Linked DNA regions of Homo sapiens: region 2 is linked to region 1. The links are contacts of gene promoters, found by promoter capture Hi-C in blood cells and fetal thymus (Javierre and others, 2016). All regions are on one chromosome and are shown on one strand. The core of a region is centred on a gene start or on the middle of the fragment in contact, and the rest is flanking DNA. Distances in the headings are between cores, read along the strand shown. Region 1 holds the start of IKZF3 (IKAROS family zinc finger 3). Region 2 overlaps IKZF3 (IKAROS family zinc finger 3).

The links. Contacts are between HindIII fragments. The CHiCAGO score rates a contact against its expected background, and 5 or more counts as called.
Region 2: a fragment that was not itself captured here is called in contact with the fragment with the promoter of IKZF3 in region 1 in 6 of 17 cell types (naive CD4 T cells, activated CD4 T cells, total CD8 T cells and 3 more); the score reaches 8.1 in naive CD4 T cells.

What each region holds. Positions count from the first base shown.
Region 1 is chr17:39,860,613-39,868,354 of GRCh38, forward strand. It overlaps IKZF3 (IKAROS family zinc finger 3), which reads right to left and starts at 3,700. Exons shown (of 8, transcript NM_012481.5): 1 at 3,508-3,700. The coding sequence starts at 3,514. It overlaps ZPBP2 (zona pellucida binding protein 2), which reads left to right and starts at 7,590. Exons shown (of 8, transcript NM_199321.3): 1 at 7,590-7,742. RefSeq lists enhancers at 804-963, 3,322-3,441, 3,452-3,541, 4,269-4,338, 4,399-4,458 and 2 more and a silencer at 6,644-6,859. The HindIII fragment of the contact is 8,560 bases long and covers 1,579-7,742 here.
Region 2 is chr17:39,789,088-39,796,829 of GRCh38, forward strand. It overlaps IKZF3 (IKAROS family zinc finger 3), which reads right to left. Exons shown (of 8, transcript NM_012481.5): 4 at 3,586-3,846; 5 at 2,329-2,496. Among named protein-coding and RNA genes, the nearest start is that of GRB7, 55 kb to the left of the region's middle. RefSeq lists enhancers at 2,557-2,666, 3,764-3,893. The HindIII fragment of the contact is 5,694 bases long and covers 1-5,133 here.

The DNA of each region.
Region 1 (7,742 bases), core at 2,450-4,949:
AAAACCAAATACCGCATGTTCTCACTTATGACGGGGAGCTAAACACTGGGTACACATGGACTGTTATGAATTAATGTGACCCCCAAATTAGACACTGATGACCCCAAAATGGGGAAGGGTGGGAGGAGGGCAAGGGTTGAAAAACTACCTATAGGACACTATGCTCATTATTTGGGTGACAGGATCAATAGAAGCCCAATCCTCAGCATCACATAATATACTTATGTAAGAAACCTGCACATGTACCCCCTAAATCTAATTTTGTTAAAATTGGCTTTAAGTGACAGTCTAGCAAAAAATATCCAATAACATTTTTGTTTTCCAAGCTTTCTTTTTCAATTATACAGTTTAAGTGCTTAAAAAATTACTGAGCTTTATCAAAGAATTACTAGCCCCAATCTCCTACTTTAAAAATTTATTTAAATAAAATGCATCACAATAAACATAATAAAAAGTACTTTTTCAGCACTATTTTAATTGAATGCAACAAATTCTGAGGGCCTTCTATGAACCAGAAACTGTCCTTCGCATTCAGTGTACAAAAACAAGACACAGTCTCTGTTCTCCAGAAGCTTAAAGACCAGAGGGGGAATAAACACCTACATCAATAAATAATTTCAACACAATGTGGTAGAAGTATACACAGAAAGGAGAGGCCCTTAGCTGAGGTGAAGGAACATGAGAGACTGGGTAGGGGTGATCACCAGAAGGCACTAGGAGGAGGTCATCAGAAGAAGGTCATCAGAGAGCCTTCATGGCGATGATGCCTGAGCAGAGTCTTGAAAGATGAGTAGGCATAAGCAAGTAGAGAATGGGTGAACATAATAGCAAAGACATGGAAGCATGAAATAGCATACTGGATTAAAGGAAGTACAAACAGGAATTTTGAAAAATTATGTTCTACCAGGACGCCACGGCCTTTCTGTGGCTTTTGTTTCTTAAAACCTTCGCATTTCATCCTCCATACGCTCACAATGGAGGGCAAACAGATTCCATCATCTACAGGCTTTATCTCTGTTAATCTCAGCCATCCAGAACATGGAAAGGGACCTGAAACAAAACCCTACTACCACAAAATCTATGTGGTAAGAAATATAAGCTGACATCAAGAAGGAGACAAAAATTGTACAATATCCTAGGTATGTTTGGTGTAGGGGCATTCAGCTCAAAACCCCTGTGAGAATATATTATGGAATAATATATGATCTGATGGTGAGAACAGTAACTCAGAGTTGCCGAGATAAACTTATCTCTTATGTACCTTGCTTATAAAGCAGGGAGCTGTGTAATAAATATACTTAGAAAAATCTTTACTCAATATTGTTAAAAATAAAAATGTTTTACATTAAATAAGAAGTCTGCCATTACCTGTGAAATTCATGTTTGTGAACCACCTCATTTCCCGACCATAACAGACAGAAGAGATGTTATAGTACAAATAATAAAATTTAGTGATTCATAAACAGTCTTTGGGTAGAAAATATTTAAGGTCACAGATTGTGAGAAAATTAAAAAGTTATAGCTTCTGATTTTAGTATATTCATTAAATCTTCATTTCTACAAGATTTCTATTTCAAAAGCTTATTCATCTGACATCTTCATACATAGAAAGTCTCAATAAATTAATTAAAAGATAAATGAATTTGTTAAATGACTTTATATGCTGAAGGAATGATATACAGTATTGCATTGTACAATAAACTGTTATGAATCAATGTGACCCCCAAATTGGGCAGAAAATAAAGGTATTCCATGAAGTATTCTACTTTCTTACATTGCCAAGAGAGGTATACACTATAGACCAAATCTCTAATCTAGACTGAGATCAAAACCACAAGATGATATAAAAATTTTTTAAATATCAAAAACATGGGCCAGATTAGTCTATTTTGGGTAGCTATAATGAACCAGATATTTTACCACATCAAATACTCTATACGCAAGGACCTGACATTAAAATAGCCAAATTCATATAATTAACCTCTTTTTAAAATTTAAATGTTAAAGTTTTTTCATTAAGCATAATCTATACTATCTATCTCCATGGACCTATAGATTTAATCTAATCATGTAAACACAACTTTAAAAAGTTATTGATCTACATTCTCTTTCCATTTATAGTCTACACACTCTAAATTAAATTCTACACAAGTTTTCATTCTTTTCTTCTTAAGGGAGTCTTCAGGCTTATTAAACATCTGTGTTAGTACACCAATAACCTAAGATATGCTATTTAGTTTCTTTATTGCACATTAAATAAATGAATTTGGAAGTATTAACATTTATAGAGAAATACTCCAGTTTCTATGGATTTACATGATTCTGTACATTATCCTTGATACGTGGTATGGTTACGGCTAGGAAAAATAGTGTTGGAGTACTGATTTATAATTTCATAAAAACAAATTAATCATTTGTAATAATTAAAGCATATGAGCTTTTCAAAAATTATTTTTCCCATAGTATACAACAGCCCAACTTTTTTTCCTTGTTATTGGCCAATAAAACCTTTGTTAAAAATTACACTTCAATAAACCATTATTTAAATGTTAAAAATGCAAAATTTTTAAAGTTTTCAAGCCCTAATTAAAAAAATTAAAAGCATAAAGTTTTTGATATTTTAACAACTTTATATACTCTAGAAATAAAGCTGCCAAAGATCAGTTCATTGTTAATTAGAGATTCTTCCATTATTATGAAGAAAATACCCACGATCTTCATATTTATCAAAGTAACATTTTAGTTAGGTGTCAATATCTCATTTTTAATAGAATGAAATTCTGAATTTCTTAATCCCACCATCCCCCCCCGAGTTGAGATGCATTTGCCATTTTCAAGGTTTTAGAAACACTTGTTGAAAAGACCATTGAAGAGTTTACAGTAGCAGTGTGAAATTTTAGGTATCCCAAGGAAGTACAGAATGAAAAATGTTTGAGAAGCAAGGATAGTGTTACGACTTTCAAAATTAATTCATATGAAACTCCTAATGTGAACCTGATTTTTTGCGCTGGGTAAAGAAGACTCATTAGAAGATCGAGTTCCAAGGGAACTGCAAATGCCAACCGCTTTAAAATGTACCTTTCCCATATGACACCATTTACCCTTGGAAGAAAACAAGTTACTCAGATTAGTCTAATTCCAATAAACACTGAGGCCATGAAGGAAAAAATATCCAAAAGGGTTGATTATTCCACCCCAGATTTGCAGCCATTTCAGGGACACCCCTTAAGTGCTCTTCCTCTGCAGATGTAGGGTAGACCCCCCATGTCTGACAACTCTTTAGAAATAAAATTGCGAAGAAGTTATCACTTTCCAAAGGGCGGGGGAAGGACAAGTGAGAGACGTTAAGAGAACCGACGCGCTTTGTCCTCTGAAATACCTCATATTTACTTTTGACAAAAGAAGTAAATAGAAGCAAAACTGAGATTCAGAAGAAACTCTTTCTACTGCTTGCACAGGTTAAGTTTCTCAAAGACCCCGGAGAAAAGAAGCGGGCTGGAGGCTCACCTTCCATGTCGCTGCCGGGCCGGGCTGGAGCTGCCGCTGTGGCTACTCGGCCTCTCCACGTGCTCCTGCCGTCGCCTGGACTCAGCGCGCAGCTGGCGGGAGATTCCCGGCGCGGGGAGTCCCCGGGATCCGGCAGCCGCGTCGGCGCAGACTGAAAAGGGCAGGAGCCGGCGACCTGCCGGTGCGCGGGGTTACAGCGGCGCTGGCTGGCGGCGGCTTTAAAGGACGCTGGCCGCGGAGTGCCGCGGGTTCCGCGCCTCCAGCCCCCTTTCGAATGTCAAACCCAAGGAACCCCGACAGGATGGAAATGTCGCATCACTAAATTGTCTCAAAATGTCTATTTTAGAAGGATAATGGATGAGAAAAGTGACATCACACGGAGGGTCGGGGGTCAGCCTTGCTTTCTTGGCAAGCTGAAGTTCAAAGACGTTTATCTTAAATTGAGGAAGATCTGGAACTTTTTGTCTAGATTCAGTGATAACAGCCGTGGAAAGTATCAATGAGAACCCCCTTCTTTCAAAGTATTTTTTTTTCCTTCCTCACTTTTTCATTTCACATGGTAAAAGTTTTTGGTCCAAGTTTTCAGACAGTTGGAAAGGATTTTGGCACTTCTATCAATTCAACTTTTTAATTTTTGGAAGCATTTATCTCACTTTTGTTTTCCCTCTGGGAACTGCTTGATTTATTTGCCACCACTCACGCAATACTACCCACTCTATATAAATAGAGGGAGTGTTTTATAGAGTGTGTTTATTTTCTCCCAGCCTGCCTTCTTCTAAATACACACCTTACAAAAATACATATATGATGTACCAGAAAATTAAGCAAAGAAAGTAGAGCTAAGGGTGGAAGGTGGGGGCAGTAAGATTGTAAAATTAACTTAAAGATGTTAGTATACAGATATGTATCAGTCAACATCTTCTCCCAACACCCTCCCTACTGTCCAGAGGTAAAGCACACATTTGACTGCAGAGAGAGGAAAGGGGAAGTGACCACAAAACTGTTTTTCAAAGCAGAACTTTTCTTCACATTGAGGTCTAAGGGACATTGTTCAGGTGAGCCCTTCTAAAGATATCCAGCGTGTGGGACAATATACGAATGAGTCTCAAAAGGCCACTGTCACCGCTATTAGAAAATTATATTAGTGCATACAAATATATTTGAGACTTAAGGCTGAGGGTTTGTGCATCAGCTGTCCATATCAGAAGAAACCCACACTTACAAGTTAAAGTATACATGCTGTAATTTTATGAATTGTAGCTTTAAACAATAGTATGTCGTTGGTATAGGCAGTCTATGTGATGTGTGTATATATATTCAAGTGGGTGAAAAACTACACTGGCTTTAAGCACCACAGTAGCATCTCTATAACTGTATGAGTTGGGAGTTCTGCAGGATGTCAATTTTGGAGAAATACTCTAAACACTAGGTCTAATTTTAGTACTGAAAGGGGAAATTTGTTGTTTGTTAGTTTCTAAAAGCAAAAATAGCACATCAAAAGTAGCAGAAGAGGAACTGTAAAATTTCACAGGGATGGTATGAGGATGAAAAGTTATTTGGTTATGAAAAAGTTGTAGGCCAGGCGCAGTGGCTCACGCCTGTAATCCCAGCACTTTGGGAGGCCAAGGCAGGTGGATCACGAGGTCAGGAGTTCGAGACCAGCCTGGCCAACATGGCAAAATACTGTCTCTACTAAAAATACAAAAATTAGCTGGGCGTGGTGGCGCATGCCTCTAATCCTAGCTACTCAGGAGGCTGAGGCAGGAGAATCGCTTGAACCCAGCAGGCAGAGGTTGCAGTGAGCCGAGATCTTGCCACTGAACTCCAGCCTGGGCAACAGAGTGAGACTTCGTCTCAAAAAAAAAAAAAAAAAGTTGTAAGGAAACTTTATGATTTTCCATTACAATGTTCTTCTGTATATTTGACAGTGGAACGTGTTAGTACTCTGTAAATAGTTCAATACTGAGTATTTCGGACTCCCGAGAGTGATACCTAAGGGGATTAAAAGTGAATTGGTAAAATAACTTATGTAGCTACTCCACCTTCAAGGAGATGCAGCATAAATCCCCACTCTTTAAGTGTGGGTGCACAAAGTGACTTCCTTCCGAAGAGTATAGTATGAAAGCAGGGGAATAAGTTGACAGTGGAGAAACCTGACAAACAGTACCTCAGCCAGCAGACCAAGGTTAACATCAAGTGATAAGGCATGTTGATAGTATGTCCCCTTGATATGATGTGATGAGAATGTCATTTTATCTCTGTAATCTTCCTCCTAAGAATCCATAATTCTAGTCTAATATGGAGAAAGACACCAAATTCCAGTAGAGAGGCATTCTACAAAATACCTCACCAATTAAAGCCAGGTCAAGACCTTCAAACACAAGAAAAGTCTGACACAGCCAAGGGGAATCTAAGGAGATACGATGACTATAGGTAATGTGGGATCCCGCATGAGATCCTGGAGCAAAAAAACAAACGAGGTAGGGAGGACATTGAGTAAAAAACTAAGGAAATCTGAATAAAGTTTGGACTTCAGTTAATAGTAATATATCAATATCCGTTCATTAATTGTAAGAAATGTACCATACCAATGTAAGATGTCAATAATAGGGAAAATCGGGAGGGAGTATGTAAAAACTCTCTGTACTGTTTTTGCAAATTTTCTGCAAATCTAAAACTCTTCTAAAATAAAAAGTTTATATAAAAAGAGTGGATGGGTACTTTTGACAACTATTACTCATTTGGTTAAGTCTCCTCTCATAGGATTTAGTTTATCACACAGGATTTACAACTATCAATTACTTACAGTAACCAAAAAGTCAATAAAACACACTGTGGATATATAATGTACTTTGACTAAAACTGGAATGAAGAACTTGTAGGGAATCAAAGATAATGCCTAAATCTGTCTTCATTATCATCACCTTAAGAAGAGAACAGTTGAGACCAGACCATGTATCCAGACATGGTAACTGAAAATGGGTGGATCTGACTCACTGAGTCACATTTCATGGCTTATGCTATATAGGTAAAATTAACAGTGACTAAAAATGAAATTACTGACAAAGTTTGCTCCTGGACCATATGAGAGAGTCCAAGTACTGACTCGGCTCAAAGGAAATAAAACCGAAAACTCTTGATCTCACCCAAAATAACCATTCTGCACCCTGTCTGAACCTTGGGCTCTCTCTACTAACCAGCCTACTCAAAACCACTACTGAGAGTGGTGTCCCGCTGCTAAGAAACAGACAACACACAGGGCCTTTCGGGCCACCAAACTAGTAGCCAAGAAGGAACCATCAAAGACGCGGGCATGATCCCCTTTGGAGCTCCCCGATCTTGACTAGTCATCCATCCCTACAGAAAAGGCCAATCGGGCTCCATCCCTACAGAAAAGGCCAATGGGCCTTACAATTGGGCCCATTTTTAAAGCAAGGTCACTTCATCAACCTAGATACGTTTGCACTGGGGGAGGTCTCTCACATCGCCTCATACTTGAAGTGAAAATGAAGATTCAACGTTCCTCTAGAGTGGGAAGGCCCGGAAGCGCCTTCTTGGCTCAGTAGTGGCTCTTCTGGGTCTTGGTCTTGCTGGTAAAGAATGCAATTAGGTAAAAATCGCGTGTCAGTTTGAAAGAGATTCGACACCCAGTTTCAGCGTTCATGAGAAGAGAGGCGTAGGAAATCCCCACGCGGGCCTTTCTGCTTCACGTGAGGAGGAAATTGTCACAAGTCTCTGCCTTCCTCAGGTCCCCTTCCTAGGGGATTCCTCATCGCATCCCCTAGCCGCCCTACCCCACCACGGTCCTTGGGACCTCGCGGTGTTCTCTCCTTGATCCCTTCGGCCCCTAGACTGGGGAATCCCCGGAACGCGACACCGTGGCTTCTTTTCCTTTATTCTCTTCCTGCCTTCCGCTCCGCTCAGAGAGCAAGGGGCCAGGAGCGCGGGAAAATGGCGCCGGACGCGAGGCGCGAAAAGTTCGCATGCCTGCTGCCGCGTGGGCGCCAGAGGATCTGGCGATCGCCTGCAGCGCCGTCGCCCCGCCCCCGCGCGCGAGAATCGAAGCACGCACGCGTTCTCCTGCGCGTCCGCTCCCGCCGTTGCGACGGACGGGTAGGGGAGGCGACCCCGGCGTTCTGCTCCGCACTGTGGAGGAGGTGGGGAGGTGTTGGGCCAGGGCTGAGGTAGGAGGGAGTCTGTCCCTCGACGCCTCCTGCGACGCCAGCCCCTGAGCG
Region 2 (7,742 bases), core at 1,037-3,536, 73 kb before region 1:
CTTACAGGTGTGAGCCATTGCACCCGGCCAGGATATTTTTGAATAATAGAAATAAAAATAGGCCGGGCGCAGTGGCTGACACCTGTAATCCCAGCACTTTGGGAGGCCGAAGTGGGAGGATCACCTGAGGTCAGGAGTTCGAGACCAGCCTGCCTAACATGGCAAAACCCCATCTCTACTAAAAATACAAAAATTAGCCAGGCACAGTGGCTCACGCCTGTAATCTCAGCACTTTCGGAGGCCGAGGCAGGCGGATCACGAGGTGAGGAGTTCGAGACCAGCCTGGCCAATGTGGTGAAACCCCATCTCTACTAAAAATACAAAAATTAGCCAGGCGTGATGGCGTGACCCTTTAGTCCCAGCTACTCAGGAGGCTGAGGCAGAAGAATCGCTTGAACCTGGGAGGTGGAGGTTGCAGTGGGCTGAGATTGCACCACTGCATCCCAGCCTGGGCGGCAGAGTGAGACTCCATCTCAAACAAACAAACAAAATTAGCCGGGCGTCGTGGTAGGCATCTATAATCCCAGCTACTAGGGAGGCTGAGGCAGGAGAATCGCTTGAACCTGGGAGGTAGAGGTTGCAGTGAGCTGAGATGGCGCCGCTGTACTCCAGCCTGGGTGACAGAGTGAGACACCATCTCAAACAAACAAACAAACAAACAAAATTAGCTGGGCGTTGTGGTAGGCATCTATAATCCCAGCTACTAGGGAGGCTGAGGCAGGAGAATCGCTTGAACCTGGGAGGCGGAGGTTGCAGTGAGCCAAGATCACGCCACTGCAACAGCCTAGGCAACAGAGCAAGACTCCGTCTCAAAAAAAAAAAAAAAAAGAGAGAAATAAAAATGAATTGTAAAAATGACTTCGTCTAAATGTCTAAGATGAAGGAAAGGTTTCACCCATACAATTCATGCAAACTTTATTCTGCCAACTCCCCAAATGCTTTATTGCTTGAAATATGTAAGTAATAACTTCAACTATCTGTGCAAGGCTGGTCTTTCTGATTGTTGATAGAATATACTCAATGAATTTGTCAGTTTTAGGGGCTAAAATTTTTATTTTCTAACTCTTGCTCTGTTTAAAACAGAGGCTTTGGGATTTAAAGCACTAAAAGATCCTTATGGAATCCTAAATTAAAACAAATGCAGGTTTGCTAGGGCTAAAAATGTTACGTTTCTGCATAAATTGGGTTCTCTGGAATCTGTCTTTAAAAAGCCTACTATTGTTTCTTACTTGAAAAAGGCAACAGTAGAGAACTATTCTAATTTTTTTCGAACCAAACTCATCCTTAATTCACTACTTTGAAAAATGAGCTGTAAAAGAGAGAAACCCTTCAATTGCCAATTATGATCTCTCATGGTGGGTTTTGTTGGGGCTGACTTGTTTAATCCTAGTGGCTGAATTATAACAAGTTTTGAGTTTGGGGCTAGGTTTTAATCAAAGCAGTAGATGTGAACTGACATAAAAACAAGCCTTTTTTTCCAATTAAAATTTTGCCAGATAACATCAAGAACATGAGGTCCCAAATTTGAAAATAAACTCAGTCTTATTTTTCTAGGACGGAAATTCTAAATCTTGAAAAAAAAGTATTATCTTGGTCAAAATAAGGAGTAAAAACATCACGACAGCACATAACTTTTACAAATCTTTACCGTTGTTCAATCTTTTAGAGATTTAAAATAAGTAGGCTGGCTGGGCATGGTGGCTCCTGCCTGTAATCCCAGCACTTTGGGAGGTCAAAGTGGGAGGAATGCCTGAGCTCAGAAGTTTGAGACCAGCCTGAGCAACATAGTGAGACCTCATGTTTATTTAAAAAAAAAAAAAAAAGTGGGCCAATCAAGAGGAAAGTTGGATTTAATAAATTTATCCCAAATGGCCAAAAAGTAGCCCCCAAACAATGATTTATATCCAGATCACAGTTTTTCATAATTTACAAACTGTACATCATTTGCTTGTCTCGTCTTTTGAATGGAAAGAGTGTGTGTGTTGGGAAAATAATCTTCTAATAAAGTTTACCAGAAGAAAATACTGATGGCTATAATTTTCTCACAAAAATTAAAAGGACATTTTTTATAGGGTGGGCTCTTCCTATCTGACTGTGTTGTTCTCCATGGGTGCAAGGATGGTGAGGAGATGATCATCTCCACTGAGGCAGACGGAGAGCAATTAGTGCCTTAATGGTCGTGTAATTAGCCCTAGAGGTCTCTGCTGTTGTAACCCTTCAGAACAAGAATGACAGATTGAAACCTTCCTACTTAACTCTTTCTAGTTTCCACACTGGGCTCTGAGGAATGCACTTCCTAGACAAGGAATGCTCATTTCTCTCACTTACCAGAATGTGTCCTAAGATGCCCCGTGAGCGCATCTCTTCTTTGGCATGCATAGTTGCAGAGGTGACACTTAAAAGGTTTTTCCCCTGTGTGCAGTTTAATGTGGCGGAGGAGGTTACCTTTCTGAGTAAAAGATGCCCCACACTGATTACACTGGAATGGGCGTTCACCTTTAAAAAGGACAAAAAAGGAGATTTCTGGTCACAGGCAAGTGGAGAAACATATGCACAGATTAGATGCCTAGGGGAAAAGCTCATCTTTTAGACAATTACTGTTCACATTGGGATCAGTTGGGAGCTGCATTTCAAGGCAAGCCTAAGACTTACTTATGAAATCTCCTCTGTAGAAGAGAAAAAGCACCCACTAGCAAGGCTATTTTAGGTATCATATTGAATCAGAGCAAAGAAACAAGAGCAGCTCTAGAAGTGCTTTCTAGATCTAAGTTTTTATATTACTATATTACTTGGTACTCCCTTTTTTTTTTTTTTTTTTTTTTAGACAGGGTCTTCTTGCTCTGTTGCTCAGGCTGGAGTGCAATGGTCCCATCATGGCTCACTGAAACCTTGACCTCCTGGGTTCAAGTGAGCCTGTCACCTCAGCCTTCAGAATAGCTGGGACTACCAGTGTTTGCCATTATGCCTGGCTAATTTTTTAGTATTCCTTTTGAATATAATCTCCTTTGAAAAAAGAGCCAGAAACTAAAGTCCTTACAAGGTGTTGAGGGCTAGAAATTCTCCTTTTTAAAGTCTTCATATGAGATATGGGATGGAATCGACTGGCTCAAGTGCGATGGTTGTGTTTGTATGCATTTCTATAGACTACCTGTTTATTGTCTGAAGATACATTATTTTAAGCTGGAAATAAAAACTATGTCCTTTCATTTACCAAATTTGAACCCAATACAATAAGAAGATCTGCTCTTATTAAAAATGTTATGCAAAAATATACAAAAGATGGCTAAGAAGCAAATCACACAATTCAACTCCTACTTAGAAACTGAAGAAAAAGTATTTGGCTGACCTAGAACACTGTGCTCTCTACAGTCTTTTTTTATTCATAGCATTTGCAATATGTTTGCCAAATGCATGGTGAGGCAGGAATAAAAAGCACTGAGTGAACAGCAATGCAGAGAGAGAGATACATCAGCATTATAGCAAAAATCAATGAAAGTAACCAAAAGTTCCAAATTCCACCACTTCATTTCTCACGTGGCTGCATTAGGAGAGTTTTCAGAAGAATGAAAAAAGCAGACTATTTACCAGTATGGCTTCGCTTATGAACCATTAAGACATTGAAGCTGATGCAGGATAATCCACACACATCGCAGTTCATCTTTCCACTGGTTGGCCTGCTACTATCGAATGAGACAACATGTCTCTCCAACTTAATGTTTTCATATTCATTATATTCTCTTGAATAGCTGTAAGGGATTTCAGGCTCTTCTGCATTTCCCATGGGTTCTGACTTTAAAACATTCTCATCTCTTTCACTGTATTCATCTTTCACTTTCATTGAATCATCTGCAGGGAAGAAAATGCAAGAAATGAACAACGACTATACTTGAAGCTATCAAAGCAGCTCAAACAGCAGAGACCCACAACTGACAATTAAATACCAATCGAAGCTAACAAAACACTGTACATCTACAAAACAAGAAAGCACCATTAGCGTGACCGCACGTTATTTAAATTCAGAACCACAGTCAGAGGAAAACACACATACTTACACACATAAAAATAGACGATAGTGTTTTAGGCTATCCAGAAAATTACAGATAATAGATTTTAGCTAAGTTTGCTCAAAGTGGCCATGAAACAAACATTGAGCAACTCTTCTCCAGTACTAGGGGAGAGGAAGGGTTCTCAGATCTAGTACTGTTTTTGGTGGCTGCAGTTAAAAAGGCAAGGTGATGTACTCTTAGGTTTCAAGGAGAAAATATTGTTTGAATCCTTCAGATGCATCCAGTGTAAGCCATTAAGATTAAGAGTTGACTAGTTAACATAGTTTTTCTAATTTTAAGCCATGCATTGCCTCTTCCCCTTCCACGTATATGAATTGCTAAAACACATCTTATCTCTGTCTCTCTTGGAGCTGATAAAGGCACAACATTGACTGTAGAGGAAGTTGTCAGTACTAATGAAAAAGTGTTGAGAAAGACAAAAGGAAAAGTAATTCTTTCATATAACCTAAGGAGTCACTTTCATCGACACAGGTAAGTGGGGCTCAATCTAAATAAGGGGAAGGACCATTAGGTCCCAAGTTAGGGAGAACTAAACTCAAGGACTCAAGGATTGTGTAATAGGACTGGATAGGAGAGGAGGGACTGGCTCAAGTGAGTTGGCTGACCAAGTACTATCTTAAGAACTGCAATGTAAATGAATGAAATTTAAAAGAAGAGCTGTAATACTCTTCATGAAGAGCATAAGAACATATGAAGAACGTGGGAAAAATATGAAGAACATAAGAAACAAAGAAGGCAAATTTATGTACTTGCACTGACACTAGTAAAACCTAAAAATTTGCCTGATGTAAGAATAATAAACATTTGTAAGGGATTTTGCATATATAAAATATGCTATATAAATGCTTACTTTTTCAACCATTGGTCCTTAGAAATCAAAAGTTGTACCTCCCCATGAGGAATCACAAATCAATGGAGTGTAGGGCTGGAAGGGAATTTAAAGGTCATCTAATCCAACCCTCTTGTTTCTCAGATGAGGAAATCTGGGAGCAGAGATGTTTTTGGTCATTTGTCGAAGGTTACACATCCAGTTACTGGCAGAGGTGTGATTAGAATGCAAAACTTAAGCTTGAACTATCAATTACTTGGATTTGACCTCATGCACTAGACATATAAGGCCTAAGTGGGTTCTTACCAACTGTATTACACACCCTCCCATCAATGGTGTAAATGTTAAAACCCAAAACAGTCTGAAAAAAGATATTTTAAAAAACTACATCCCTTCCAAAAAACATCAGTAAGTGTTGCTCCTCTTGCTGCATAGGAGGAAGTACAACTGCAGCTGTGCCTGGCTTGCTACCTTCAACCCAAGTTTCAATTTTCACTTCTATCAAGGTTACCTTTCATCTATATTAACTGTGTTTGCTTAATAGAGCAAGACAGGGCCTAACCACCATCAGAGGAGCCAGGGCTGCCACACAGTTCCACTGCTTCCTACCACAGTTCATGGTTCACAACTTTTCACTCTTTGACTAGCAAAGATGTAGGGCTGTAGGATAAGTCCAACATGTTTCAAATTTGCCCACCCTATGGATCTGGATTATATAAGAAATGATATCTGTTTCCTACTTGGAAAGAGGTTTACTTCTTTCTCTGGATAGGTCTTCCCTGCTTTCAAGTGGAATTTGTTTGCTTAAGTGTTTATTTTTTATTTTTTTAAGAGAAGGATGCACCTGAGGCTTGTACTTGCCTCCCTTCCTCCATCACTCCAGCTGTGGGTAATATCCCACCAAAGCTTGAGTGCTCTTCAGTTTGCATGTAGGCGTTTAAAAGAACCTCAACGGAAAATTTCAGCTACTTAAAACCAAAAACAGCAGATAGAAAAGGCCAGCAGAAAAGGATCCTTTCCATTTTGGTTAGAAAATGTGAACATGACCAGACTCAGGCCACTCCATGGTCACTGAACTTTAAAATGTAGTAAGATCAATGTGTTGAGTCTTTCTGAAAACAGAGGACATAAGAGAGCTGCTCCTTTCCCTCAGGATTTTGGCTTTAGTTGGCCTGACCTGGAATTCAATACGACACCATCCTGGCTCAAGAGCAGATCTTAGCTTTAGTCCTTTAGGAGTCAGCTATAGAGCAAGGAAGACAGTATTTGAGACCCAGGGACATAAGGACACAGGGACAGGGCATTAGAGAAGTCCTTTGGGCTTACATAGTTGCTGGTTTGCCTTTGGAGTCTTACCAGTTTTAGATGAATGACCTGGATGACCTCTCTGCATGGTTACTGGGGATTAGCAACTTATTTTTATTTTATTCTATTTTATTTTTTGAGACATAGTCTTGCTCTGTTGCCCAGCCTGGAGTGTAGTGGCACGATCAGCTCACTGCCACCTCTGCTTCCCAGGTTCAAGTGATTCTCCTGCCTCAGCCTCCCGAGTAGCTGGGATTACAGGCATGCACCACAATGCCTGGCTGATTTTTGTGTTTTTAGTAAAGACGGGGTTTCGCCATGTTGGCCAGGCTGGTCTCGAACTCCTGACCTCAAGTGATCCACCCTCCTTGGCCTCCCAAAGTGCTGGGATTACAGGCCTGAGCCACCGTGTCCAACCAGATTCTAATTTATTCTAATATTCAACTCTGTTACCTTCTCAAGGTAAGCCATAATAAATTGCTGGCTGGGCATAGTGGCTCATGCCTGTAATCTCAGCACTTTGGGAGGCCAAGGCAGGTGGATCACTTGAGGTCAGGAGTTTGAGACCAGCCTGGTCAACATAGCAAAACCCCGTCTCCACTAAAAATATAGAAAATTAGCTGGGCATGGTGGCTCCCAGCTACTGGGGAGGCTGAGGCAGGATAATCGCTTCAACCTGGGAGGTGGAGGTTGCAGTGACCCGAGATCGTACCACTGCACTCCAGCCTGGGCGACAGAGCGAGACGCCATCTCAAAAAAGATAAAATAAAATAAAATAAATTAGAATTTAAGGTATGAATGAGATTCCTGAGAGATATTAGGCTTAGTACTCAGCCTCCAAACACAGTCCACCAAAACCAGGAAAGGCATTAGCCTGCTCTAATGAAGAGATTCATCCCATTCCCTGGAAGACTTATTGAAGCAGAGAAAAGGGGTGTTCTACTTAGAAAAATTCTATTAGAAAATACTAATGAACATGTCTAAAATCAAACTTGTCATCTTTGAACCCAAACTTGCTTCTAATTTATGACTTATTTATGTTGACAAATGGCATCACCCTTCTTCCAGTCTCCAAGCCATCAAACTGTGGAACCTTTTCTCTTTCAATTTCTACATCAAGTCAGTCTCCAAGATCTATCAACTCTATGTCTTCAGGCTCTCTAGGTGCCAACTCCTCTTTTCCTTTCCTTTTGCAATTTGGTTTCACCTTTCATCACATCATACCTAAATTCATCCTCTCTCAACATTCCTTTCTTTTTTTTTTTTTTTTGAGTCAGAGTCTCACTCTGTTGCCCAGGCTGGAGAGCAGTGGTGTGATCTCGGCTCACTGCAACCTCTGCCTCCCTGGTTCAAGCGATTCTCCTGCCTCAGCCTCCTGAGTAGCTGGGATTACAGGTGCCCACCACCACACCTGGCTATTTTTTTAATTTTTTTTTTTTAGTAGAGACGGGGTTTCACCATCTTGGCCAGGCTGGTCTTGAACTCCTGACCTCGTGATCCACCCACCTCGGCCTCCCAAACTGCTGGGATTACAGGAGTGA